Linked DNA regions of Homo sapiens: all the other regions are linked to region 4. The links are contacts of gene promoters, found by promoter capture Hi-C in blood cells and fetal thymus (Javierre and others, 2016). All regions are on one chromosome and are shown on one strand. Each heading gives the region's core, a stretch centred on a gene start or on the middle of the fragment in contact. The rest is flanking DNA. Distances are from core to core; before and after follow the strand shown.

The links. Contacts are between HindIII fragments. The CHiCAGO score rates a contact against its expected background, and 5 or more counts as called.
Region 1: a contact is called between the fragment with the promoter of ZNF628 here and the fragment with the promoter of VRK3 in region 4, in 5 of 17 cell types (naive CD8 T cells, non-activated CD4 T cells, total CD4 T cells and 2 more). The highest score is 8.2, in naive CD8 T cells.
Region 2: a contact is called between the fragment with the promoter of ZNF784 here and the fragment with the promoter of VRK3 in region 4, in 4 of 17 cell types (total CD8 T cells, total CD4 T cells, naive CD4 T cells and 1 more). The highest score is 6.5, in total CD8 T cells.
Region 3: a contact is called between a fragment that was not itself captured here and the fragment with the promoter of VRK3 in region 4, in 1 of 17 cell types (fetal thymus). The highest score is 8.1, in fetal thymus.
Region 5: a contact is called between the fragment with the promoter of PPP1R12C here and the fragment with the promoter of VRK3 in region 4, in 2 of 17 cell types (naive CD4 T cells and total CD8 T cells). The highest score is 8.1, in naive CD4 T cells.

The regions. Positions count from the first base shown.
Region 1 is chr19:55,472,766-55,478,034 of GRCh38, reverse strand. It overlaps ZNF628 (zinc finger protein 628), which reads right to left and starts at 1,418. Exons shown (of 3, transcript NM_033113.3): 1 at 1,228-1,418. RefSeq lists silencers at 697-1,020, 1,153-1,352. The HindIII fragment of the contact is 2,239 bases long and covers 1,015-3,253 here.
Region 2 is chr19:55,621,584-55,626,804 of GRCh38, reverse strand. ZNF784 (zinc finger protein 784) reads left to right here and starts at 2,239. Exons shown (of 2, transcript NM_203374.2): 1 at 2,239-2,321; 2 at 4,161-5,221. The coding sequence starts at 2,244. The coding sequence ends at 5,054. RefSeq lists enhancers at 1,859-2,008, 1,759-2,258 and silencers at 2,079-2,138, 2,209-2,258. The HindIII fragment of the contact is 2,172 bases long and covers 1,916-4,087 here.
Region 3 is chr19:55,602,359-55,607,745 of GRCh38, reverse strand. ZNF865 (zinc finger protein 865) reads right to left here and starts at 2,099. Exons shown (of 2, transcript NM_001195605.2): 1 at 2,014-2,099. It overlaps ZNF524 (zinc finger protein 524), which reads right to left. Exons shown (of 2, transcript NM_153219.4): 2 at 4,608-5,387. The coding sequence ends at 4,839. RefSeq lists a silencer at 1,831-2,330 and enhancers at 2,374-2,925, 2,926-3,477, 4,581-5,131. The HindIII fragment of the contact is 2,248 bases long and covers 677-2,924 here.
Region 4 is chr19:50,021,310-50,026,989 of GRCh38, reverse strand. VRK3 (VRK serine/threonine kinase 3) reads left to right here and starts at 1,618. Exons shown (of 15, transcript NM_016440.4): 1 at 1,618-1,723. It overlaps ZNF473 (zinc finger protein 473), which reads right to left and starts at 985. Exons shown (of 5, transcript NM_015428.4): 1 at 868-985. RefSeq lists enhancers at 832-881, 1,292-1,341, 1,682-1,761, 1,811-2,312. The HindIII fragment of the contact is 2,425 bases long and covers 981-3,405 here.
Region 5 is chr19:55,115,542-55,120,961 of GRCh38, reverse strand. PPP1R12C (protein phosphatase 1 regulatory subunit 12C) reads left to right here and starts at 3,325. Exons shown (of 22, transcript NM_017607.4): 1 at 3,325-3,739. The coding sequence starts at 3,419. RefSeq lists enhancers at 1-31, 2,970-3,249, 4,210-4,289, 4,690-4,739, 4,094-4,929 and silencers at 3,310-3,389, 3,580-3,659, 3,680-3,779. The HindIII fragment of the contact is 6,736 bases long and covers 2,396-5,420 here.

The sequences.
Region 1 (5,269 bases), core at 169-2,668, 5.5 Mb before region 4:
CGCAGTGTCGCCCCTGGGGAGCACCGTTGCCCCCAGATGAGAACCGCTACTATATAACCAGTGTGCTTTCTGTTTTATTCTGCCTCCCCATGCTAGAATGTCAACGCCGGGAAAATAGGGGCTTCTGTCTGGTTCACTGTTGTATGCCATCCCAGTGCCTACAATAATGTCTGGCAGAGTGTGTGCGCAGTAAACAAATTTTAAATGAATGAAGGCTAGGCATCCCCGTCGGACAAGCTACAAGAACTTGTGTGTTTTTTTTGTTTTTTTTTGGAGACAGGGTCTCACTCTGTCACCGAGGCTGGAGTGCAGTGGCGCGATCTCGGCTCACTGCAACCTTCGCCTCCCGGCTTCAAGCGATTCTCCTGCCTCAGCCTCCCGAGTAGCTGGGATTACAGGTGCACGCCACCGCGCCCGGCTAATTTTTGTATTTTTAGTAGAGACGGGGTTTCACCATATTGCCTGGGCTGGTCTTGAACTCCTGGCCTCAAGTGATCCGCCCGCCTCGGCCTCCCAAAGTGCTGGGATTACAGGCGTGAGCCACCGCGCCTAGCCAAGAACTTCCTTTTTAAAAGATAAGTGTACCCTTTAATATGTAAGCAGGTTAGATCGCGCCACTGCACTCCAGCCTGGGCAACGGAGCAAGACTCCGTCTCCAGAAAAAAAAAAAAAAAAAAAAAACAAACCTACTGATGCTAAGAAGCTGCACGTGCCTTTGAGAAGCCCCAGCATCTCCTTAAAAGAGATATCCGTGCCCTGAAAGAGCGGGGTCCCATTTAACAAGAAGACATCCCCTTTAAAAGGCCGCGCCACACCCGTTCAGCAGGCTGGACCTCCCCTTTAAGGGGATGCTGCCACTGGAGCCCCATCTCCACTTTTGTTGAGCTAAACCAGGGATCGCTTTGAAGCAACCAGGACTCAGGAGTTTTTGCTTCAATGTCTGGGAAACGGTCACTGGCCTTTAATGAGATAACCGCCTTTTAGGGGAAAAACATTGTTTTAAGTCAGAAAGCTTCTGTAAAAATGCAAAGCCTGACCCGCCCTCTCAATGTGGCCCCTTGCCCTTTAAGAGGGCGGACCCGGCCTAGCTGGCAAATGTCGGAGGTGAAATAGTGACTCCCCTTTAAGGTACCCCTTCCGGTTTCACGCCCCCCCCCCCGCCCCACCCCCTGCAACTTCTCCGCCCTCCGGTCCCTCCCCCCACCCCCACCCCCTCCGGTCTCTCACCTGCGGCCCCAATCGGGGGAACGAGGGTGGCAGCCCCAGGACCTTCCCGCGGGGGTCGACGGGAAGGTGGGGCCCCGGCAGCGGCGGTGCAGCTGTGGGGACCGGGGAGGGGGGGCAGGGGCGCACTCCCTCCCAACGGCCCCCGGCGCGAGGCACCCAACCTTTATCGGCGGCCTCTCGCGCACACAAACCCCGACGTCGCCGTCGGTGCGTCACAACGCACGTACTCCGAGTTCCCGCCCCCGGACCCTCCCATTGGCTGTGCGAGGCCTCGTCGAGCTCGGGCGCAGGCGGTGCGCGGCATCCTGGGAGTTGTAGTTCTCCCAGTTGTGGTCGCGGACTCCAGTTGTCAGGTCTTGGGGGCCGAGGCCCCGGTGAGCCCAAGGCCAGGGACGGCCAGCTCGAGACGCGGGGTCGCAAGTTCCCCTTATTAATCCCGATTCCCTCTCATCTGCAAAAAAATCCTTCCATGCACCACGGTTGTACAAAAATCCCTCCCGTGAAGCGGGCCCCGCCCCCAGGGTGTAATCGCTCCAGCGGGAAAACGAGGCCTGGAGCGCTTCCAGTCCCTCGGTAGAGCCACGTGCTCAGGATTTTCGGGCGTGTGCTTCGTGCACGCTCATCCAGACGCTGCAGAAACCTGGTTCCTGCTGGGCAAAGGTCTGTTCTGGGAGGCTGGAATCCACAGACTCCTTGTGGGGCCTAGGGTTTTAGTGGGAGACCGAGCTGCTCCAAAGCCCCTCTCCACGCTCAACCCCCGCCCAACCCAGCGTTCCAGCCACACTGGCTTTTCTGAGGGTCATTAAACGCAGTTTCTCAACCAGAGCACTAGTGCCATTTGGGATGGATTCATTGCAGCGGGGACTGTCCTACACACTCTAGGGCCCCCACTCACTAGATGCAGGTAGCATCCCCAGCCCCGCTCCACACACCCCGTAGGAGAGCTCAGAATATCTCCAGATAGAGATTTTCGCGGTGGCTCACACCTGTAATCCCAGCACTTTGGGAGGCTGAGGCAGGCAGATCACTTGAGGTCAAGAGTTCAAGACCAGCCTGGCCAACATGGTGAAACCCCGTCTCTACTAAAAATACAAAAATTAGCCGGGCATGGTGGCAGGCACCTGTAACCCCAGCTACTCAGGAGGCTGAGGCAAGAGGATCGCTTGAGCCCAGGAGTCGGAGGTTGCAGTGAGCCAAGATCGTGCCACTGCACTCCAGCCAGGGTGACAGAGTGAGACTCTGTGTTAAAAAAAAAAAACAACAACAACAAAAAGAATATCTCCAGACATTGCCACATGTTCACTAGTTGAGAGCCACTGCTCAAAGGCAGTACCCTCAGCTTGAAGACCATTCTGCATGCTGTTTCTCAGGCCAGAAGGCCCTTCTACCCTTAACCCATCCCTGCCCAGCAAGATCCCACTGGAAAGCCTCCTGTGCTAGGTGGTGTCCCTCTTACATGCTCAGCGACATTTATCTATGTCCCATGACAGCGAGGACCTTTCGTGTCTTTGCTGCCCAGGTATTCCAAACAACCAGCATGGGCCCTGATGGAGAAGCAGACGGTACTTGTTTGTTGAATGAGTGGATTTTTCCAGCCTCCCACACCGTTTCCCAAGTCCACAAGCAGGCTGGAACTCAGGGCTGATCTGCGGTGGTGTGGACCCACCCCTACCTTACAGGGTCTTGGTGCTGATGTCTCCGTGCATTCGTGCGTGTAAAAACCCTTGGCATCCAGCTCAGCCCAACATTCCTTTCACGTCAGCATTAACCACACAAAGCGGCTGCCATGCAGGGTGGAGACGTGGATGGGAATGCACTGCCCAGCTGGCTGCCAGGCTAGGAAAGCCCAGAGGTGCGGATCCCACTTCCGTCCCCCTTGCCTCGGGCCATTTTGGTCTCTGCAGTAGTGAAAGGGGCCCTCAGCTCAGCCCCCCTCATTTACCTGCCCACGCAGAGGCATTACAAAAGGGATGGGACACCCAGCCTGGGCAGTACAGCAAGACCTCATTTCTACAAAAAATAAGCTTCCTGTGGTGTACATACCTGTAGTCCCAGCTACTCAGGAAGCTGAGGTGAGGGGATCGCTTGAGCCTGGGAGGTTAAGTCTGCAGTGAACCGAGATTGTACCACTGCACTCCAGCCTGGACAAGAGAGCGAGACCCTCTCAAAAAAAAAGAAAGAGAGATTGGCATGGCTAAGACTGGCTCTTACTCTCCTTAACATTCCCCACTTTGCAGCCAGAAGGTGAACAAAGGTTTTGAAGTCAATGGCCTTGGGCAACCTGCTGTCTCTGAAAAGGTGGTGTGGATTCAACAGGTTTGTTTTCAGAACAGCCTCGCAGCCCCTTGGAGACAGTGACCGGAGGAAACTCAGGCCAGCCTTGTGTCCAGCACTTTCCAGGCCAAGGAGGAGTCTCAGGGACCCAGATGGGGAGGTGGGGTTGTCTCCTAACCCCCCGGAACATCTGTGTAGCCCTTCAAGGGATGTTGTCAGGTCCCTCATGCTGACAAGTAAACAGAATCAGCTGGGTGCAGTGGCTCATGCCTGTAATCCCAGGCCTTTGGGAGGCTGAAGCAGGCGGATCACAAGGTCAGGAGTTCGAGACCAGCTTGGCCAGCGTGGTGAAACCCCCCCCCAACTCTACTAAAAATACAAAAATCAGCCAGGCATGGTGGCGCGTGCCTGTAGTCCCAGCTACTCAGGAGGCTGAGGCAGGAGAATTGCTTGAACCCAGGAGGCAGAGGTTTGCAGTGAGCCGAGATCGTGCCACAGCACTCCAGCCTGGGCGACAGAGCAAGACTCCATCTCAAACAAACAAACAGACAAAAACAGAATCAAATAGCCAAAAACATGGATAAGATCACACAGAATCCTCAGCTGCAGCTGTTCCAGGCCCAGCAGCGCTCCCACCCACAGTCCAGACCAGGGCTCCACCCCAGGTCCTGCCCTGGGAGCTGGGTCATAGCAATGTGGAGGGGGAAAACCAATAAAAAACTCACCATCCCAGTGAGCTCACAAAACCTCCCAGGGCATGCAGTGGTAACAAAGAAGACAGACTACCCGCTGCTCAGTGCTGCAGGGAAAAGCCCAGCGGGGGATAAAGCTCCAGGGCAGCAAGGGGACCTCCAGAGCCTCAAACGCAGGACCAAGCAGACGCGCGGATGCACACCCCTGCACCCCTGCAGGCCCCAGACGTTTCTGTTTCTGGCCAACAACACCCCGCACCAGGTGTTTTGGGGGCACGGTTCCCCCCACCCCAACTAGATCAGCCTCCTTGCCCAGCCTCAGACTCTGAGCCCTGCCCCCTGCCAGCCAGGTAAACCATTCAGCCCCTCTAGGTACCCACCCTTTCCTGGGGACTGTGCTGTCACTTCCGCCCAGAGGCCCTGCACGCACTTGGGAGATTCTTCTCCATCCACCCCCATCCCAGGAGGATCAGCCGAAGGCTTTAGAAGGGACCTGCCACTCCCTTTCCCTCCCTCTCCAGAAAGTGGGGTCAGGGAGTGAAGGAGGGATCTGGAGTAATGACTGGATTCCCAGGGCCAGCGATGAAAAATAAAACGTCCTTTTCCAAACAAGTCGGGTAAGGAACCAGAGATGCATTTTAGGTTGAAGGCGGAGGGGACGGGCAAAGGGAGTCACCGGTTGCCGGCCATCCCCCGGAACAGGGGACCCAGGGGGCAGGCCCTTGCCTCCCACAGACTCAGGATGCTTCCTTCTTTTTTTTGGAAACAGAGTCCCATTCTATTGCCCAGGCTGGAGTACAATGGCACAATCTTGGCTCACTGCAACCTCGGCCTCCCGGGTTCAAATGATTCTCCTGCCTCAGCCTCCTGAGTAGCTGAGATTACAGGCATTTGCCACTATGCCCAGCTAATTTGGCTGGTCTTGAACTCCTGACCTCAGATGATCCACCCGCCTCGGTCTCCCAAAGTGTTCAGATTACAGGCGGGATCCACCGCACCTGGCCAGGATGCTCCCTTCTGACATCTCTTAAGGCCCCCGTGGCAGCCCCAGCCGGCCCCAAGCTAACGGGCCTCTC
Region 2 (5,221 bases), core at 990-3,489, 5.6 Mb before region 4:
GAGGCGGGCCGATCAGCTGAGGTCAGGAGTTTGAGACCTGCCTGGCCAACATATGGTGAAACCCTGTCTCTACTAAAAACAAAAAACAAAACAAAACAAAAATACAAAAATCAGCTGGGCTGTAACACCCTGGGAACAAATCCGAACGTTCCTTCTAAACCAACGCAGGCCGACTCGAGGCTCTAGCAGTCAGTGGAAGACCTCAGCGGAACTGAAGAGGCTTTGCTTTGTTTCCACAGTAAAGGTTTTTGTGGTTACCTCTGCACCACTTGCGATAACGTAATGACGTGTCACACCTGTAGTCCCAGCTACTTGGGAAGCTGAGGCAGGAAATTTGTTTGAACCAAGGAGGTGGAGGTTGCAGTGAGCTGAGATCACGCCACTGCACTCCAGCCTGGGCTGTTTCTCAAAAAAAAGAAAAGAAATGAAATTATTTCACACCCAAGAGATTAGCGAACATTTTAAAGTTTGAGTATCAGATATTGATAGGAATGTTAAGCAACAAAGGTCCCTATTTATTGCTAGTGGGAGTGCCAAATGGTAGTAATTATTATAGCTAACTCATAGCACCTGCTGTGTGCCATACATTGTCCAAAATACTTTATATATAATGACTTCTTTAATCATCATAGCAACTGTGTAAAGTAGGTTTTATTATCACCCTCATTTTGCAAATTAGGAAACCTGGACAGAAAGAGCTGACTTAAGCATTAGACACAGTAGTAGATACAGTGCCTAGGGCCCATGATACTCTTAGGGACCCACAACATTTAAAAATTTATTTTAGGCCGGGCGCAGTGGCTCACACCTGTAATCCCAGCACTTTGGGAGGCCGAGGTGGGCGGATCACCTGAGGTCAGGAGTTCGAGACCAGCCTGGCCAACATGGTGAGACCCTGTATATACTAAAAATACAAAAATTAGCCGGGCATGGTGGCGGGCACCTGTAATCCCAGCTACTCAAGAGGCTGAGGCAGGAGAATCGCTTGAGCCCGGGAGGCAGAGGTTGCAGTGAGCCATGATCATGCCACTGCACTCCAGCCTGGGCGACAGAGTGAGACTCCATCTCAAAAAAAAAAAAATTATTTTAAAATCAAAAGAAAAGAAGGGAAATATAGCTTTGGAAGACCAAGGCAGAAGGATCGCTTAAGGCTAGGAGTTCAAGACCAGCCTGGGCAAGGCAAGACAGCAAGATCCCCATCTCTATAAAAGAAGAAGAAAGGAGGAGGAGGAGATAATTCAGCCTAAGTGGTGTTTATCTTTATTTTATACCAACATATCACAAAATATAATTTCATATATATTTATGAATGAAATGATCATGCTTAGGATCATGTTTAAGTATCTCCTATCCTGCCCTTTCAAGAAAACTATTTAAAGATGTTTCCAAACTCTTCCATGTCTCTTCTCAGTGGTTTGTCACAATGCTTCTACAGTGCTACACAAAAGAAAGAGAAATGGTCCAGAGAAGTGTAGTGACTTATCCAAGGTGATACCACCAGAATGACTAAACGGGGCAGCTAAGAAGAGCCCCGTCCTTGATGCTGCTGAAAACCCCGCGTTTTTGAGCTCTTTCCTCCCAAACATAACATCAGCTTGCGGGTTTTTGCGTCCTCCCAGGACCACCTGTGTTGCTGTTTACTGAATATTTTTCTCCACACTGCCTTTTTTTTTTTTTTTTTTGACAGAGTCTCTGTCACTCAGGCTGCATGCAGTGGCGAGATCATGGCTCACTGCAGCCTCGACCTCCCGGCCTCAAGCGATCCTCCCACCTCAGCCTCCCGAGTAGCTGAGAATACAGGCATGAGCCACCGCACCCGGCCTACACCGACGTTTATAAACTTGGCGTCATTACGTTGTCATGAGCAGTGCAGAGGTAATCACAAAAACGTTTACCGTGGAAACAAAGCAAAGCTTCTTCAGTTCTGCTGAGGTTCCCCTGACAGCCAGAGCCTCGAGTCGGCCTGCGTTGGTTTAGAAGGAACGTTCGGATTTGTTCCCAGGGTGTTACAGGCATCCTAGCGCCACACAGAGCGTACCCTCGGAGGGACAGACAGGTAATTAGAGAGGGAACAACTCACATTCTCCCGGGCTCAGCCGCCACGCCCCGCCCCGCCACGCCCCCTGCTGCACCACGCCCCCTCGCAGCCCCGCACTGCGCCTGCGCAGTAGCTCTTACGCCAGTTCGAGCCCCACCCCCTTTCAGAGCGAACATTGGCCTTGGGGGCGGGGCTTGGGCACAAGATGGCCGCTGCGCGCCCAGAGGCCCAGAGTCGGAGCTCACCGACTCCGGAGTCGCGATCCCAGGAGCCACTGGACCTGGTGCGGGCAAGGAAGGGGCCTGGGCGTGGGGCTCGAGGTGGGAGGAGGTCGTAGTGTGGGGGGCGGGTCCGGGGCGTGGCCTATGAGGGGGTGGGCGAGGGAGGTATTTAGTGCTATGGCCCTGGGGGTGGGGCTTCTTGTGGTTTCGCGAGGGGCGGGGCAGGGGAGGAGACTATGTCATGGTGGGCGGGGTGGGGGAGGGACCTATGGGTGGTGGGCGGGGCCTGGATGGGGGCGGAGTCTGAGGACGGTGTTGTCTTGTGGGACGGGTTTGGGTCCAGGGAAGGGGGCTTACCAGGGATAATTTGCATAATTTGGGTGGAGCCTTGTAAGGGGCGGGGCCTCATAAATTCTAGGGCTAATTCTAGGGTAGAAGGTTGGGAAGGTGACCCTGAAAAACGTGGGGGATTATGATTGGAGCACCTATGTCGGGGTAGGGGATAATTCTTCAAGGGTCTTAGTGATGCTTCTCGAATGCCCAAGGGAGAATTTGGGGGTAGAAGTGGGTGGTCTAGGTGACTTTGGAACTTCCTCCACGTTACCCCACTCAGAATTAGACTAATTGAGGACATTCATTCATTCAACAAACATTTACTGAGCTCCTACTTCGGCTCTGTAAATAGAGAAGTGACCAAGACAGACAAGGGTTGTGTTCTTTTGGAGCCTGCAGTCTCTTGAGAGGAGAGAGACAATAAAGGAGAGTTACTGTGATATGTTCTATAAAGGAAATAAAAATTGAGCCAATTTCTATAAATTGAGCCAAGAGTAGGGGTGGGGCAGCTAAATTTAGACGAGAGAAGTCAGCTGGGTGCCGGCTTATGTTTAAGCTGGGGTCAGAGAGATAAGTGGAGCTACATCGCCACAGATATTATAGTGACGATTTGGGATAAGTCATTTGGAGCCACTGGAGGGTTTTGAGTGCGAAAAATGACTTGATCTGATTTACATTTTCAAAAGACCTTCAGGCTATTCCTGGGAGGTGGGTTACAAGCCAGCAGAAATAGGAACAGAGATGCCCTTGGGTTTTTCAATTTTGGAGGCGCCAAGTGATGGGGCTTTAACTAGGGTGGAGGACAAAAGGTGGGATCCATGATATATTTTGGACAGGAGAGGAAATGTTGATGAGGATACAACAGAATCCTGGAGGATGGGCCGGGCGCGGCGGCTCACGCCTGCAATCCCAGCACTTTAGGAGGCAGAGCCAGAAGGATCTCTTGAGCCCAGTAGTTGGAGACCAGCCTGGGCAACATAGTGGGACTCCCTCTACATTAAAAATAATAATAATAATTTTTGTTTGTTTTGCTGTCTAAGATGGAGTCTTGTTCTGTCGCCTGAGCTGGAGGGCAGTGGCATGATCACATCTCACTGCAACCTCCACCTCCTGGGTTCAAGCGATTCTCGTGTCTTAGTCTCCCGAGTAGCTGGGATTACAGGCAGCAGCCACAACACCTGGCTAATTTTTGCATTTTTAGTAGAAACGGTATTTGCCATGTTGGCCAGGCTGGTTTCGAACTCCTGACCTCAGGTGATCTGCCTACCTCAGCCTCCCAATGTGCTGGTATTACAGGCCTGAGCCACCGTGCCCAGCCAGAAATAATTTTTTTTTAACTAGCTGGATGTGGTGGTGCATGCCTGTAATCCCAGCTACTCAGGGAGATGAAGTGGGAGGATCGCTTGAGCCCAGGAGGTCAAGGTTGCAATGAGCCACGATCGCGCCAGGGCAACAGAGTGAGGCCCTGTCTGAAAATAACAGAGGAGCCCAAGCTTTAATAATTGGGGCGTGCTGGGGCGGTCCTGAGGCAGGTTCCACAGGCTCCTCTTTCTTCTCCTCTTGCCCAGGTCCTGGTGCCTGATGACTGCCGGCCTGGCACACCCCCGAGTGACCTCATCGAGATCCAGGTGGTGAAGGTGACGGACACCACGCTGGTCCCTGAGCCCCCGGAGCCAGGTTCTTTCCACTGTGCCTTGTGCCCTGCTGCCTTCCGGCTGGTTTCCGAGCTGCTGTTCCACGAACATGGCCACTTGGCTGGGGCCGAGGGAGGCGGGCAGGGTGGGGACCCGAGCCGGTGCCACGTGTGCGGCCACAGCTGCCCGGGCCCCGCCAGCCTGCGCGCGCACTACAGCTTGCACACGGGGGAGCGGCCCTACCGCTGCGCGCTCTGCCCCCGCGCCTTCAAGGCCTTGGCGCCCCTGCTCCGGCACCAGCACCGGCACGGGGTGGAGCCGGGCACCTCTCGGAGGCCTCCGGACACAGCGGCCGTTGCAGAACAGAGGCCCGGGGTGGCCCCGGAGAGGGCGGAGGTGGTGATGGCGGCGGCGGCGGCGGGCGCAGCGGTGGGGAAGCCTTTTGCCTGCAGGTTCTGCGCCAAGCCCTTCCGCCGCTCCTCAGACATGCGAGACCACGAGCGCGTGCACACTGGCGAGCGGCCATACCATTGCGGCATCTGCGGCAAGGGCTTCACCCAGTCCTCGGTGCTTAGCGGCCACGCCCGCATCCACACTGGCGAGCGCCCGTTCCGCTGCACGCTCTGCGACCGCACCTTCAACAACTCCTCCAACTTCCGCAAGCACCAGCGCACCCACTTCCACGGGCCGGGGCCGGGGCTGGGAGACTCTGGAGGCCAGCTGGGCTCGTCGGCGGCTGAGGGGTCGGGGAGCGGGTGTGGGGTAGGGGACCCTGCGGAGGAGGGGCGGGGGGAGACCGCGAAGGTGAAGGTGGAGGCCGACCAGTAGGCTGCAGACCAGGGACATGGGTTAGTTAAGGCGGAGGTACGAGGCCGACCCGGGGAGGGGGACGGGGTGGGGAAACGGAGGCAGGGGACAGAAGAGGGGAGATTGGGGGAGAGATGACAGCTGCAGGGATGGTTGTGAGCCGCTAGTGATGGAGAGCAGAGGGAGAG
Region 3 (5,387 bases), core at 551-3,050, 5.6 Mb before region 4:
GTCCAGGAGAAGGGGAATTTTTACTCTTGTATAACTTTTTGGTGTGTGGCTTTTGGGAGGGACAAGATGACAAGACATAGGAAAATCCTGGGGGAGGCCATCCTGAACCACAGCCCCCCAGGTCTATCTCTTTATCCCGTGATATTCTGAACACGCACATATACTCTTGGTTTTTGTTTTTATTTTTTTTCACTGCAGCCTCGAACTCCTGGGCTCAAGCAGCCCTCCCACCTCAGCCTCCTGAATAGCTGGGGACTACAGGTGCCCACCAACCACACCCAGCTTTTTTTTTTTTTTTTTTTTTTTCCTGTAAAGACAGGGTCTCACTATGTTGCCGAGGTTGGTCTTGAACTCCTGGCCTCCAGCGATCCTCCCACTTTGGCCTTCCCAACTGCTGGGATTACAGGCATGAGCCACCTCGCCTGGCCTGTATTTTGTCTTTTAATCATCTGCCCCCTCAACTAGCATATCCACTCCATGAGGACAGGGATTCTTGTCTATTTTGTTCTCTGTTGTACCCCCAATGTAAAGTAGGTGCTCATTAAACAGTTGTTCAACCAGTGTTTACGAATGAACGTATGAATGAATGAAGAACATTCTGGGCTCGGTAGAGCTGACAAAGGCTAGATAATTTATCCCAGTGCCCTCACCTCCAAAGCCTTTTGAGACCAAAGCTTCCTTCCTCTTGTTCTTGCCTTCAAATCTTCCACTCCACCCTCACCGGCCTCCCCTGCTGCTCCTCCACTCACCGTGCTCACCGCCACTTCAGGGCCTTTGCACTTGTTGTTCTTGCTGCCTGCTCACCCAGATCTTTGCATGGCTAAGCTGCCACTTGTAATTCAGCTTTCACCTCTAAAGTAGTTCATCAGGCTCTCAGAGAACCCACAAAACCCCGTGTATCTTTGTCGACTCGTGTCTGATCAACTAGACTGTGAGACCCCGCACAGTGAGAACACTGTGTGTATCGACCCCCTTCGTGGCTGTATATTATACCCTTCAGCTAGAATAGTGAATATGCGTTCAACGCAGAAGGAATGCCTACGAGAAAAGAAGTCACACCCTAGTGAAGTCCAGGGTCTTCCCTAGGGAGTCCAGGACGATAGCCTGAGAGCTGGGTGAGAAGCTGCAGGTCAGGGCAACAGTTGTTCACGCCATAGGAAGAGGATGAGGCACATTCTGGGAAGGAAGGCTTCACCGCCTCACTGCGGGACACTGTTCTGTGGCAGAAGTAATGAAGACGGGCTGACCGCGATGAGGGTGGGGTGAGAGGAGGTACGGGAGTATGTCATGGGAGCCTGGAGCTAAGCAGGCGGATATTTCTACCTGAGGCGGGAGAGGATGTGAGTGTGAAGGAACTCTAGAGGGAGCTGTGCCGCTGCGATGGGGGGGTGGCTTTGAAAGGGGCATTCTTAAGGGGAATCACTGGAGGACCTGCAGAAGGGAAAAAGGCATTCTTGGTGCTGACCAGAATAGAAAGTATTTTCACACCCACGAAGGGGCGTTCTGCTGGGGAGGGAGGTGGTCAGGGCCATTGGGGGCTGTTGCTGTATGGACAGAGATAACGGGGGACAGTTCTGCTGCAAGGCACTAAGGAAACACTCTGGGGAGAATTATATAGAGGATACTAATAAGAGGGTTCACGAGCAGCTGCCCTACATGGGGAGGGGCAATGCTGATGGCATCTGGAGGCTGACCTGGAGGAAGCAATGACGGGGAGCGCTATGTGGAGGGGATCCTACGAGGAGGTATCATTTGGGGGCCCTGGCAGCCGTTTAGGGGATCGCCACGAATGAAAGCGCTTTGGCAGCCATCCTAGCTGGGGGCGTTCATGGGGGAGCTATCTGCAGTGATCCTACCGGGGAGCAGTGATTGGGGGTCCCTTGGCAAGGGCCCGGCGGGAGCTGCACTGACTTGCTAGGGGTTGGGGGACGTTCTGGGGACCACAGCGGGCCAGGGCGGGGCCCCCCGCCCCCGCTGCACCCGGGCCCCCGGGCCACGCACCCCGTCACTCACCGGCGCCGGGGTCTCCGCCGGGAGGAGGCCGAGGAGGCGGAGGAGGCGCCGCCGCTCCGGGGAGACCCGAGGGCCCGACCGGAAGTGCCGCCCCCTCCCCCCTCCCCGGCAGCCCCGCACCGCCCGCCTGCCCGCCCGCCCGGAAGCGGAAGTCGCGCCCGTTCCCGAGGCGCCGGCGTGGAGGATCGGAAAGAGGAGGCGGTGGCGGGGACCAGGAGGGGGGAAATGCGCTTGCGCACTGACTCGGGGACGCGAGCAGTGAAAGCCCGGGCCGATTCCGGTGGGCGAACTGAGCCAGGTGCGCCTGCGCTTTGAATGCCCGCCTCTTCTACGGGAACCCCGCGACACGCTCTGGGCGTCCGGTTAAGCCACACCTCCGGCTCGGGTCTCACACTGAAGCCCCGCCCCCTGGCCCTGAACCACGCCCATCTCACAGCGTGATTATAAGCCCCCTACTGCCTCAAAGTCTGTCTTCGTCCCCTCGCCCTCATGCAGTTTCTCCTGTTCTTCCCCCTCTCCAAGCTCCCACTCTCTGGAACTTCACCCCTCCCTAGGCCCCGCCCCCTCCATCCAAGCCCCGCCCCTTCACCCCATAGCATTTAAGTTGCACCTCGTGACTTTTGAGTGCCTCCCACCTCTAAAGCATTCTTTTAAATCGGTGGTTGTCAAGGATAGTTGGGAGGCCAGCAGCATCCGGCTGCCTGCTCAGACCATGCGGAATAGAAGCCCTGGGGTTGGGGGTCTAGGGATCCGTGTTTTGAAATACTCTGATTCTGCTGCATGCTGGTCAAGAGCCATGGATTTACCACACTTGACACTGCCCGCTCATATAATCGCTATAATCCCGGCTCCCAACTCAGCCCCATCCCAAACAGCCAAACCCAGACCCATTCAGCCCCTCCTGCTAAGCTTCCACTCTCCCAGGAACTTCCCTTAGATTAAGTACTTCCTTCTCTCCCCATCGCCTCCATAGCAGTCGTGCGCCCCCATCAGCACCTTCTAAGTCCCACCTCCAATACCCTGTTCCCTCAGAGTTTCTCCTTTAAGCCCCGGCCCCCGGCCCTCGGCCCTGAACCACGCCCACCTCAGAGCTGAATTATTATAAGCTCCGCCCCTCACCTTAAAATCCGTTCTCTTGGCCTGGCGTGGTGGCTCACGCCTGTAATCCCAGCACTTTGGGAGGCCAAGGCAGGCGGATTGCTTGAGCACAGGAGTTCAAGACCAGCCTGGGCAATATGGCAAAACCCCGTCTCTACAAAAAAAAAAAATACAAAAATTAGGCTGGACGCGGTGGCTCACGCCTGTAATCCCAGCACTTTGGGAGGCCGAGGCGGGTGGATCACGAGGTCAGGAGGTCAAGACCAGCCTGGCCAAGATGGTGAAACCCCGTCTCTACTAAAATTACAAAAATTAGCCAGGCGTGGTGGCGGGCGCCTGTAATTCCAGCTACTCGGGAGGCTGAGGGAGAGAACTGCTTGAACCCGGGAGGCAGAGGTTGCAGTGAGCCAGATTGCCCCACTGCACTCCAGCCTGGACGACAGCAAGACTCCGTCTCAAAAAAAAAAAATTAGCTAAATATGCTGGCGCCCGTCTGTAGTCTCAGCTACTCCGGAGGCTGAAGCAGGAGGGTCGCTTGAGCCTGGCAGGTCGAGGCTGCAGTGAGCGGTGATAGGGCCACTGCACTCCAGCCTGGATGACAGAGCGAGACCCTGTCTCAAAAAAAAAATTATCCGTCCTCCTTGCCCCACTCTCACGCAGTTCCTCCTGTTCTTCCCCAGCTCCAAGCCCCTACTCTCTATTAGATCAACTCTATCCATCCTCTTTAAACCGCTCTCACTTTCTGCGGACCAACCCCTAAACCTCTTTAAGCCCCACCCAACTCTAACCCTCTTCTAAGCCCCCGCCCCAGGTCCCAGCCTAACTGCCCCGCAATCTCAGCCCCACCCCTCGCTCCTTAGCCCCGCCCCAATCCACACCCCTTATCTCTAAACCTTACCCAGACCGTCCTGCTCATACCTTTGTCTTAATTTTTCCTTCCAAACAGTAGGTCCTCAGGACAAGGAGGTGGGGCAAAGTGGCTGCAGAATTTCTGGGAATTGGCTAGGAGAGAGGCGGTCGGACCTACAGTCAGGTCTGCATGGAAGGTTCAATGTTTTTAGTTAGATTGGATGTGTACTGGGAATACAGCTGACCCTTGAACAACAGGGGTTTGAACTGCAGGTCCATTGAGAGGCGGACGTTTTTTCACCCAAACACCGGTGGAACATACAGTATACGAAGGGCGGATTTTCCTACATCCGCGGGTTCCGCAGGGCCCACTGCTGGACTTGTGTATGCCCAGATCTTGGTATCTGCGAGGTTCGTGGAACCAATTCCCCGCGGACTCCGAGGGACCCATGGACTTTGGGGTCTGATGGAGATGGGGAAGGGGCCAAGGTTCCCCCCAAAACCATTCTTTGGCGAGCACCACGCTCATGAGGCACAGGAAGTGGGGTCCTCTCCAATTCCCCGCACTCCCGACAGGACGGTGTAGCCGAGGAAGAACATTTGAAGGCAGGAGAGGATGGCATCCCGGCACGGAACACACACAGGCAGCCAGCAGGCAGAGATTTATTTCCACAGCCCCTGCCTCCAAGGGTCTGTTAGTCTGGGGGAGGGGGGCTGAAGGCAGCTGGACCCCAAAGTTTAGGTCTCCACCCTCCACCTGCTCCCACAACGGGAAGACCACCGGAAACAAGGGTGTCCCGGCCCCCTGGCTCAGGCCCAGCACCAGCCAAACTCCCTGCTCTAAACCTGGCCCAGGGAGCGATGGCCGGGGGTGTGGGTCAGGCCGGCTCCCCTTTCCCCTCTGTCTCCTCCTCCTCCTCGGCCCCTGCTGTGGCCGGGATGCCCTCCTCGTCCCACGGCGGTTCAGACCCTGGATCTGGTGCACACAGGGGTACCCCCATGGCCTCCGGGTGCTTGCGCTTCGCATGGCGCCGGAGCGTGTTGGCCTCTGTAAAGCGCAGCCGGCAGATGGGGCACTGGTACGGGCGCTCCCCCGAGTGCACGCGGTGGTGGTGCGCCAGCTCGCCCGCCTCGCGGAAGCGGCGGGGGCACAGCGGGCAGCGGAAGGGCCGCAGGCCGGCATGGATGTTGCAGTGCCGCCGCAGGTGGCTGGAGCGCTTGAAGGTCTTGCCGCAAACCTTGCACTGGTGCGGCTTCAGCTCTGAGTGCGAGATGCTGTGGCGCTCCAGGTCGGAGAGGTAGGGGAAGGCCCGCAGGCACACCGGGCAGAAGTGTGGGGCCTTCCTGGGGCCAGAGCCCTCAGGCCCAGCCGCTGAACCTTCAGAGACCGTATAGGGCACACCCTGATCATCGATCAGGAGGAGGTC
Region 4 (5,680 bases), core at 369-2,868:
GTAAATGTTAAGTACTTCAACTTCCCGAAGAACTCCCATCCATCGTCCAGCAAGATTCTGCCTAAATTTGCCAACTTCAGGTAACTCATTCCCCTCCTTCCCCAACCAAAACCAAAATAAAACAGAACCACTCCTCTCAGGGCCATCAGGGAGGCCTGGAAACCCCTTTAGCAGTTTTCTTTTCTTTTCTTTTCTTTCTCAGCTCACTGCAACCTCTGCCTCCTGGGTTCAAGCAATCCTCCCACCTCGGCCTCCCAATTAGCTAGGAATACAGGGGCGCACCACCACGCCCGGCTAATTTTTCTATTTTTTTCTTCTTTTGTGGAGACAGGGCTTCACCATCTGGCCCAGGCTAGCCTCGAAATCCTGGGCTCAAGCGATCCGCCCACCTCAGCCTCCCAAGGTGGTTTTCTTCCTTTCTTTTTTTTTTTTTTTTTTTAAGATGTAGTCTCGCTCTGTCACCCAGGCTGGAGTGCAATGGCGCGATCTCGGCTCACTGCAACCTCCAGCTCCTGGGTTCAAGCGATTCTCCTGCCTCAGCCTCCTGAGTAGCTGGGATTACAGGCCCCCGCCACCACGCTCAACTAATTTTTGTATTTTTAGTAGAGACTGGGGGTTCGAGGAACTCCTGGCTGTAAGTGATCCCCCCCGCCAAGGCTTCCCAAAGTGCTGGGATTACAGGCGTGATCTACCGTGCCCAGACCTTGAGCGGTTTTCATAACAGACTGTGAAAGACGGTTCACACCTTCACCCTGACAACCGCCGCCCAAGGCGACGCACCCTTTGCCGAAGTCGCCCCCACTTGCATTCCGTCACCTCTCAGGAAGGACCGAGCCCGCAAGTCCCTCAGCCCCAGCGTCTCCGTACCTCGGGATTGTAGTCGGCCGCGTCAACAGACGCAACCCCAGCCTCAAGGGAGCGGGAGATTCAACTCCCCGCACACGCGCCTCCTCGCAGCGACTTCCTGTGCGCGAGAAGCTTCTCTGAGCGGCTGCACCCAGGATCCTCCGCGGCAGCGCCAGGACTCTATTTCCCAGAGGGCTGTGCGGGCGACTTCTTTCGCCTTCCCATCTCCTCCTGCTTCTTCAGCCTTAGCACTGTGGGAGTAGAGTAGAAAGAGAATCAGGACCAGGCGGCATCAGTTTGTAGTCCAGATTTTTACCTTGTTAAAGAATCATCTAATTAGCTTCTTGCCTTTACTAGAAGTCAGGGAGTGTTAACCTTTTCCGAAGAGCAAGCGGTAGGTTGCCATGGAAACGCGTTGTGACGGGTTTCTGAGAAAACAAGCGGAAGTAAGGGGCGGAGTTGAGGCAGAAGTTTAGGTAATGTGACCTCTGATTGGTGGAGAGGTACCTCACGGTGCATTCCGATTGGTCTGACACTGACACATGCGCAGTAGAACCAGAAGGCGTTCCAAAGCGGCTAGAACGGAGGGGAGGGGGATGAGCAATGAGGGAATAATCCCCATTCCGTCTGGAATCAGAGGGCGGGCCTGCCGCGGAGGCATCTGGGAAACGGAGTTCCCAGGCAGGCGAAGCCCAGGGGCCGTCAGGAAGTCAGCGGCGCCTGCGCGGGCGCCTCAGATTCAGGATGCGCGCGCAGCGCTCTCCGCCCAGCGGAAGTTTTCGCTGGGCAACTGAGAAGGTGAGTCCGGGTAACTGCGGAGGATCCGAGGGTCAGGCTGCAGAAGCCCAGAATCCCACCCCAGTCCCCAAGTACAGAGGTGAGGGGAAGCGAGGCGAACGAGGGGACGTCCCCCGACCCCCTAGCCGCAGCTCGGCCGGGGCGTCCGTGACGTCAGCACGACCGTTTGTGGGAGGCGGAGGCCCCTGCTGTCGGGGTTCGGAATGAGAGCGGCTCCGGGTCGCGGGGTTCACTGGCCTCCTCTTGAGCTTCCCAAGCCACCTTGGGCTCCGTGTTGGGCATGGCTAAGGCGGAGATGGGCGGAACTTGTGGGAAGTTCGACAGCTCCTCCGCTGTGAAACTTGGCGTCTAAGTCATCCCGTGGTTTCTATGGAGGTGCGGCCGAAGGGAGGCTCTGTCGTCGCCTAGGCAATCGCCCCACCTGCGCTGAGGTGGGGTCTGACTTTTAGCCTTTTTGCTGTGCTGTTTCCTGAACTTTCTAGGAGGAACACTATACAGTAGTTGACGCATAGCAGCTGTTCCCTAAACATTTGTTGAATAAGTCAAATAAATTAAGATAAAGACTGGCCTGAGGGTTGGAGTCTTAGGGTTTCAAGTCCTGACCTGGCCATTGCATAGGTGACTTCAGCACATCCAATTTTATTGAGCGTTTACTATATGGAAGGCTCCGTGCAACCGATATTACACTACTATAACCTGGGTTTGAACGGTGCTAGTCTAATAGGCACTGTTCAAGCCCAGGTTATTATAGCAGTGTCTAAAACAAAAATCCTGCCCAGCTAATTCACATTCTCAGGGTGGTTGGGGATGCCAGACACTAAAAAAGAAATGTTAAAGAATATTTACAGGTCTGCAGTCCCTTATCTATAACTTTAAAATCCAAAACGTTCTGAAAACTGAAAGGTCTTTTTCTCTGTTTTGCAACTTACTTGGCAGGCCAACCTCACCTGGCTTTGAACTTGTTTGCTGGCAATACCCACTCTGAACTGATGTGTGACTATTTAGAATTTTTAAAGATTTTGTTGTGCAAATCATATACTTATGGAGAGTTGCCCCTGGATCTCGCCGGTGTTGTAATATGTAATAGGTTCTAAAATCCAAAAAATTTGGCTGGGCACGGTGGCTCCCGCCTGTAGTCCCAGCACTTTAGGAGACCGAGGTGGGCGGATCACCTGGGTTCAGGAGTTCGAGACCAGCCTGGCCAACATGGTGAAACCCCATCTCTACTAAAAATAAAAAAATTAGCCGGGCATGGTGGCATGCGCCTGTAATCCCAGCTACTCGGGAGGTTGAGGCAGGGAGAATCGCTTGAACCCAGGAAGCGGAGGTTGCAAGTGAGCTGAGGTCGTGCCACTGCTCTCCAACCTGGGTGACATAGCAAAACTCTGTCCATCATGCAATACATGGCAGAAGCAAGATCCAAACCCAGGCAGATTATTTCCCAAGTTTATCCTCTTAACCCCTGTACTGATCTGCTTCTAAGTGGCACGTCTTTTTTAGGGACCATCCAGCTAGATAATTCCGGCCCTGAGCTTTGAGTCTCTGGCTGGATGTCTAGATTTGCCTGAGAGATGAATGTGTACTGACACAGCTGGGGACCCCCCCCACCCACCTTCTTGGCACATTTTCTTTTGCAAAGGAGACAATGATTTATTCACTCAGCAGACGTAGACCCAGCATTTGCTCTGTGCCAGGCCTGTTTGAGGCTCTGGGCACACTGTGGCAAACAAGGCAGGGAAAAGTCCCCGCCATCATGAAGCTTACATTCTAGTAAGTCAGAGTATGTCAGGTAGTGACAAGCACTGTGAAGAAAAATAAAGCAAGGTAAGGAGGATAAAACATGCTATTAGTAAAATGGTGTCCAGGGCCAGGCACGGTGGCTCGAGCCTGTAATCCCAGGACTTTGGGAGGCTGAGGGGGATCACCTGAGGTCAGGAGTTTAAGACCAGCCTGGCCAACATGGTGAAACCCCATCTCTACTAAAAATATAAAATTAGCCAGGCGTGGTGACACGCATCTGTAATCCCAACTACATGGGAGGCTGAGGCAGGAGAATCACTTGAACTCGGGAGGCAGAGTTTGCAGTAAGCCGAGATCGTGCCATTGCACTCCAGCCTGGGCGAAAAGAGCCAAACTCCATCTCAAAAAAAAGAAAAGAAAAAACACAGTAAAATCGTGTCCAAGAAGGTCTCTGAGAAGGTGACATTTGAACAGAGAGCTAAAGAATGTGATGAGGAAGTTAACTGTGTGCACTCTTAGGGGGACAGCGTTCCAGGCAGATGGGAGAGCAGGTGCAAAGGTCTTGGGGAAGAAACGTTCTTGTCACGATTGGGGAAAAGCACCGAAGCTGTTGTGGCTGACTCAGCGTGAGCAAGGGGAGAGGTGGGAGAGGTCAGAGAGGGAACAGGGAAGTGGCAGATCATACAGGGGGCTCCTGGGCCATGGTAGGAATTTCAGCATTTATTCTGTCTAAAATGAAATCCACCATACGGTTTTGAGTAGAGGAGGGACAGGGTCTGACTTACATTTTATTTATTTATTTGTTTATTTATGAGACTGAGTCTTGCTCTGTTGCCCAGGCTGGAGTGCAGCGGTGCAATCTTGGCTCATTGCAACCTCTGCCTCCCAGGTTCAAGCGACTCTTGCGCCTCAGCCTCCCAAGTAGCTGGGATTACGGGTGCCCACCACCACGCCCGGCTGATTTTTTTTTTTGTACTTTTTTAGTAGAGACGGGGTTTCACCATGTTGTCCAGGCTGGTCTGGAACTCCTAACCTCACGTGATCCGCCCACCTCGGCCTCCCAAAGTGCTGGGATCACAGGCGTGAGCCACCGTGTCCGACCCACCATATGGGCCAGGGCAGGGACACAGACAGGGTCTGACTTAGATTTTAAGTGGATCCGTCAAGCTACTGGGTTGAAAATAGATTGTAGGGACAAGCGTAGAAGCCGAAAGTCTAGTTAGGAGGCTGCTGCAGTAGCACAAGGGAGAGATGGTGGCCTAGACCAGGCTGGTGACGGTGTCAGAACCGGGGGTGGCACATGGTTAAAAGACTCTCTTGCCGTGGTTCCACACCCAACATCAGCTTCCAGATTTAAATCTACAAGAATGTTCTGACCTGCTGCCCCAAGAACCCAGTCCGGTTTTGCGTTTTCGTTGTATAAATTGGCACCAGGTGAAGAACATGGGCTTTTGGGTTCTGGATTTCAGCTGCGTCCCCACTGTTTTCTAGGTGAGTGGAGTCAGGTCTGGGGGAAGGAGAATTGTCACCCTTTGAGCATCATTTTGTAGGTTTCAAAGATGGGATAATCATCCCTACCTCATAGAGTGGAGGGAAAGATTAAACAAAATCATGTGTCTGGCTCGCCGCTTAAGAGGTTTGTGGCCCTGGGCAAGTCATTTGCTCTCTGAGCCTCTGCTTCTCATCTCCCCAAAGGGGAAATCATTCTTACCTTGAAAAGGGTGATTGGGAAGGTTCTGTAGATAATACCTGCCGAGAACTTAGCACAGTGGTCTGCACATACTGAACTGTCATGAAATGAGAACCGTCTTAAGTGAGTGACTTGACCTCTCTGTGCAGCAGGGACTCCCTGTCCCGGTTACTATGTCTAGAGAACAAATCGTCCCACAATTCACTGGTGTAGAACCACCATTTCTTGTGCCCATGGATCCTATGGGCCAGGAATTCAGAGTGAGCACAGTGAGGTGGCCTGTTTCTGCTCCCCAGTGCCTGTGCCTTAGCAGGAAGACTTGAAGGCTGGGGTTTAAGTGGTCTGAGGACTTGCCCACTCACCCAGCAGCTGATGGTGGCTGTTGGCCAGGGGCCTCAGTTCCTCTCCACCTGAGCCTCTCCATGTGGTTTCTCTGCCTGGGCTACTTTAGGCTGCCTCATGCCGTGGAAACTGGCTTCCATGGGTGAGCATCCTGAGCGAGCCAGCCAGGTGCAAGTTGTTTTTTATGACCCAGCCTGGGAAGTCTCATGGCCTTACTGCTGCCGGTCCTCTATTGGTAGGAGCAGTCACAGCTCTGCCGAGATC
Region 5 (5,420 bases), core at 2,076-4,575, 5.1 Mb before region 4:
ATGTTGGTGCTTAACCTTGGAACTGCAGGCCCTCCTCACTGGTGTAAATAACCTCAGAAAGATAAGAAGAAAATGTTCCCACTTCTTCTGTAACAGCAGAAAAATAGATATTAGTCTGCACCATAAAGATGGTTCAGATAAGCAGGTGAAGTTAGAACATCCACAAAAGTATAAAATTGACTCTTCTGTCCTGTGTGGAGAGGGGTAAGAGTATTATAAGCCCATTCTGATTTCTGTTATTTTACTCTTTTTTGATTGCGCCAGTGCAATCCAGCCTGGGCGATGACAAGAGTGAAACTCCATCTCAAAACAAACAAACAAACAAACAAAAACAAACCATAAACACAAACTCATAAACAACATACATCCAGCCACAGACATGATTGCAAATACACACAATTATACATAAAGGCACAGAATACATACAGAACCAGAGCTACACGGTAACACCCTGAAGACCGACTTCTTGTTTTCCTGGGGGAAGGAGGTTGGTGTGTAAGTATGTGGAAAGTGTGGGGTTCAGGGACCACACCTAAGAGCCACCAGAACTATCCCTTTCTATAGAAACAGGCTTCGTGGCGGATGAAGACCCCATCTTGGGGTTCCACCAGATATTCCTACTAAAGAACATCAGCTGGGTGTGGTGGCTCATGCCTGTAATCCCAGCACTTTGGGAAGCTGAGGCGGGTGGATCACTTGAGGTCAGGAGATCGAGACCAGCCTGGCCAACATGGTGAAACCTTGTCTCTACTAAAAATACAAAAATTAGCCAGGCGTGGAGCACGCCTGTAATCCCAGCTACTTGGGAGGCTGAGGTAGGAGAATCACTTGAACCTGGGAGGCGGAGGTTGCAGTGAGCCGAGATCACATCACTGCACTCCAGCCTGGGCGACACAGTGAGACTCCGTCTCAAAAACAAAACAAAACCAAACAAAACAAAACATCAGCGATGCAATGATGCTTGGGTTTGCACCAATGATATGCAGGCTTGCTCTGCACAACTTCAGCTGACCTCCTCTCCACCGGGCCCTCACGCTGCCTCCTCTTCCCTCCTCTTTCCAGAACTATTGCCACTCCTCCAGATATGATGCACAAATGAGCAGGGTCGCAGTGGGAGTGGGCGCAGTGCGCTGATGCCACGGAGGTGTTGTGCATGACGTCTGGACACTAGACTAGCTGCATGTAATGGGAAAAGTTTGTGTTGTACCAGCGCATGCCTTGGAAAGACTTAAGTAATGCAAAAGGTTGTCCTTTAAAAAAAAAAAAAATCTGGCCGGTCGCGGCGGCTCACGCCTGTAATCCCAGCATTTTGGGAGGCCGAGGCAGTCGGATCACGAGGTCAGGAATTCGAGACCAGCCTGGCCAACATGGTGAAACCCCGTCTCTACTAAAAAACAAAAATTAGCCGGGCGTGGTGGAGCACGCCTGTAGTCCCAGCTACTCAGGAGGCTGAGGCAGGAGAATCGCTTGAACCCGGGAGGCAGAGCTTGCAGTGAGCCGACATCGCGCCACTGCACTCCAGCCTGGGCGACAGAGCAAGCCTCCGTCTCAAAAACAACAACAACAACAAAAAAAAACAAAACTACTGACAAGTTGCTCTACTTAACCCAAAGAAAGTGAAGGAGAAAGCGGCTGCCTCACCGCCTAGACATTGAGTCGCCGGATGTTTCAATGCCTCATGATACAATAAAACCACAAAAATTTTCGTAACAGCAGCAGCAACAACAACAACAAAAGAGAAAGAGAGAGGGAAAGAAACAGGCCTCGTGGGATGCGCAGTTTACGTCTCCGCGCAAACCCAAGGACTTCAGAGTGGGTGGGAAACTCCCACAGCGCTTGGGAAACAGTCTGTAGTCTCTGTCCCGATTTTGGCCCTTTTCTGTATGATTTTTATGGGACTCTTCCTGTCACAAAGTGCCAGCCACCTTCCCAATCTTGAGTTGGGCGCGGGATCCGTAAGGTGAAGATCAAGGTGTGCTCATCGCTTGGGCCCGCTGAAAGGTGATTCGCCCCCCACCTGCTGGAACTCCTTGCCCGGGACCACCAATCCCAGCATGCCTTGAGAGCGCGCGAGGGCCTGGGCGGTTCCCAGGAGGTCCGGGTGGGCGCAGGAGAAGCGCGGGCCAGTGAAAGCTCTGAGAGCCCTGTCCCTGTGGACACTGTGTCTTGGGTTCCTTTACTCGGTGTGGCTCAGGGATTACCATTAGGGAGTGGAGTGTGGATTTCTCTTGCCCCGAGCCCTAAATGCCTTGGGGCCCTGCCTTGCACCCCACTGTGCTTTTAGGGGTGTGGCCCTGTGGGCTACATTTCCCAGCGTGCCCTAGGATCGTGGTCCTGACCTTTTCACCGCAAATTTCATTTCCCAGCATGCCCTGCGAGGTCACCCAGGGAAGCTTGGAAGTGGACTGTCTTTCATGGCTTCTAGGTTGCGGACTCAGTTTCCCATGGTGCCCTGGTGAACCCATTCATTCATTCATTCCAAAAATATTTGCGATCAGGTTCTCTCAGGTTCTGTTCTAAGAACCGAGGACAAGTAGTGCACAGAAGACAAAAGATCCCGCTCTCGTGGAGCTTATTTCTAGTTAAGGGGTCAGGAAAAAAACCAAAATAAATAAAACCCAGCTGGGCATGGTGGCTTACGCTCGTCATCCCAGCAGGATTACAGGCCGAGGCGGGCGGATCATGAGGTCAAGAGATCAAGACCATCATGGCCAACATGGTGAAATCCCGTCTCTACTAAAAATATAAAAATTAGCAGGGCGGGGTGGCGCGCGCCTGTTATCCCAGCTACTCTGGGGACTGAGCCAGAATTGCTTGAACCTGGGAAGCGGAGGTTGCAGCGAGCCGATATCGCGCCACTGAACTCCAGCGTGGCGACAGAGCGAGACTCCGTCTCAAAACAAAGAAAACAAAATAAAACAACAATAACAAAACAACTCTGCCTCTCCCCGCACTCCCTCCCACGCGGCTGTCCAGTCGAATTCCTAACTGCCCCGGGGCAGTCTGCTATTCATCCCCTTTACCCGGTGCTACACACTTCCTAGTATGCCGTGGGGCACCCCTCCGGCCTGTAGACTCCATTTCCCAGCATTCCCCGGAGGAGGCCCTCATCTGGCGATTTCCACTGGGCGCCTCGGAGCTGCGGACTTCCCAGTGTGCATCGGGGCACAGCGACTCCTGGAAGTGGCCAAGGGCCACTTCTGCTAATGGACTCCATTTCCCAGCGCTCCCCGCGACCTGCCCAGCACACCCTGGGGCAGCGCCGTGACGTCAGCACGCCGGGCGGGGACCGGGAGATCCTTGGGGCGGTGGGGGGCCAGCGGCAGTTCCCGGCGGCCCCCGGGGCGGGCGGGCGGGCGGGTGGTGGCGGCGGTTGGGGCTCGGCGCTCGCTCGCTCGCTGGGCGGGCGGGCGGTGCGATGTCCGGAGAGGATGGCCCGGCGGCTGGCCCGGGGGCGGCGGCGGCGGCTGCCCGGGAGCGGCGACGGGAGCAGCTGCGGCAGTGGGGGGCGCGGGCGGGCGCCGAGCCTGGCCCCGGAGAGCGCCGCGCCCGCACCGTCCGCTTCGAGCGCGCCGCCGAGTTCCTGGCGGCCTGTGCGGGCGGCGACCTGGACGAGGCGCGTCTGATGCTGCGCGCCGCCGACCCTGGCCCCGGCGCCGAGCTCGACCCCGCCGCGCCGCCGCCCGCCCGCGCCGTGCTGGACTCCACCAACGCCGACGGTATCAGCGCCCTGCACCAGGTCAGCGCCCCCCGCCCGGCGTCTCCCGGGGCCAGGTCCACCCTCTGCTGCGCCACCTGGGGCATCCTCCTTCCCCGTTGCCAGTCTCGATCCGCCCCGTCGTTCCTGGCCCTGGGCTTTGCCACCCTATGCTGACACCCCGTCCCAGTCCCCCTTACCATTCCCCTTCGACCACCCCACTTCCGAATTGGAGCCGCTTCAACTGGCCCTGGGCTTAGCCACTCTGTGCTGACCACTCTGCCCCAGGCCTCCTTACCATTCCCCTTCGACCTACTCTCTTCCGCATTGGAGTCGCTTTAACTGGCCCTGGCTTTGGCAGCCTGTGCTGACCCATGCAGTCCTCCTTACCATCCCTCCCTCGACTTCCCCTCTTCCGATGTTGAGCCCCTCCAGCCGGTCCTGGACTTTGTCTCCTTCCCTGCCCTGCCCTCTCCTGAACCTGAGCCAGCTCCCATAGCTCAGTCTGGTCTATCTGCCTGGCCCTGGCCATTGTCACTTTGCGCTGCCCTCCTCTCGCCCCCGAGTGCCCTTGCTGTGCCGCCGGAACTCTGCCCTCTAACGCTGCCGTCTCTCTCCTGAGTCCGGACCACTTTGAGCTCTACTGGCTTCTGCGCCGCCTCTGGCCCACTGTTTCCCCTTCCCAGGCAGGTCCTGCTTTCTCTGACCTGCATTCTCTCCCCTGGGCCTGTGCCGCTTTCTGTCTGCAGCTTGTGGCCTGGGTCACCTCTACGGCTGGCCCAGATCCTTCCCTGCCGCCTCCTTCAGGTTCCGTCTTCCTCCACTCCCTCTTCCCCTTGCTCTCTGCTGTGTTGCTGCCCAAGGATGCTCTTTCCGGAGCACTTCCTTCTCGGCGCTGCACCACGTGATGTCCTCTGAGCGGATCCTCCCCGTGTCTGGGTCCTCTCCGGGCATCTCTCCTCCCTCACCCAACCCCATGCCGTCTTCACTCGCTGGGTTCCCTTTTCCTTCTCCTTCTGGGGCCTGTGCCATCTCTCGTTTCTTAGGATGGCCTTCTCCGACGGATGTCTCCCTTGCGTCCCGCCTCCCCTTCTTGTAGGCCTGCATCATCACCGTTTTTCTGGACAACCCCAAAGTACCCCGTCTCCCTGGCTTTAGCCACCTCTCCATCCTCTTGCTTTCTTTGCCTGGACACCCCGTTCTCCTGTGGATTCGGGTCACCTCTCACTCCTTTCATTTGGGCAGCTCCCCTACCCCCCTTACCTCTCTAGTCTGTGCTAGCTCTTCCAGCCCCCTGTCATGGCATCTTCCAGGGGTCCGAGAGCTCAGCTAGTCTTCTTCCTCCAACCCGGGCCCCTATGTCCACTTCAGGACAGCATGTTTGCTGCCTCCAGGGATCCTGTGTCCCCGAGCTGGGACCACCTTATATTCCCAGGGCCGGTTAATGTGGCTCTGGTTCTGGGTACTTTTATCTGTCCCCTCCACCCCACAGTGGGGCCACTAGGGACAGGATTGGTGACAGAAAAGCCCCATCCTTAGGCCTCCTCCTTCCTAGTCTCCTGATATTGGGTCTAACCCCCACCTCCTGTTAGGCAGATTCCTTATCTGGTGACACACCCCCATTTCCTGGAGCCATCTCTCTCCTTGCCAGAACCTCTAAGGTTTGCTTACGATGGAGCCAGAGAGGATCCTGGGAGGGAGAGCTTGGCAGGGGGTGGGAGGG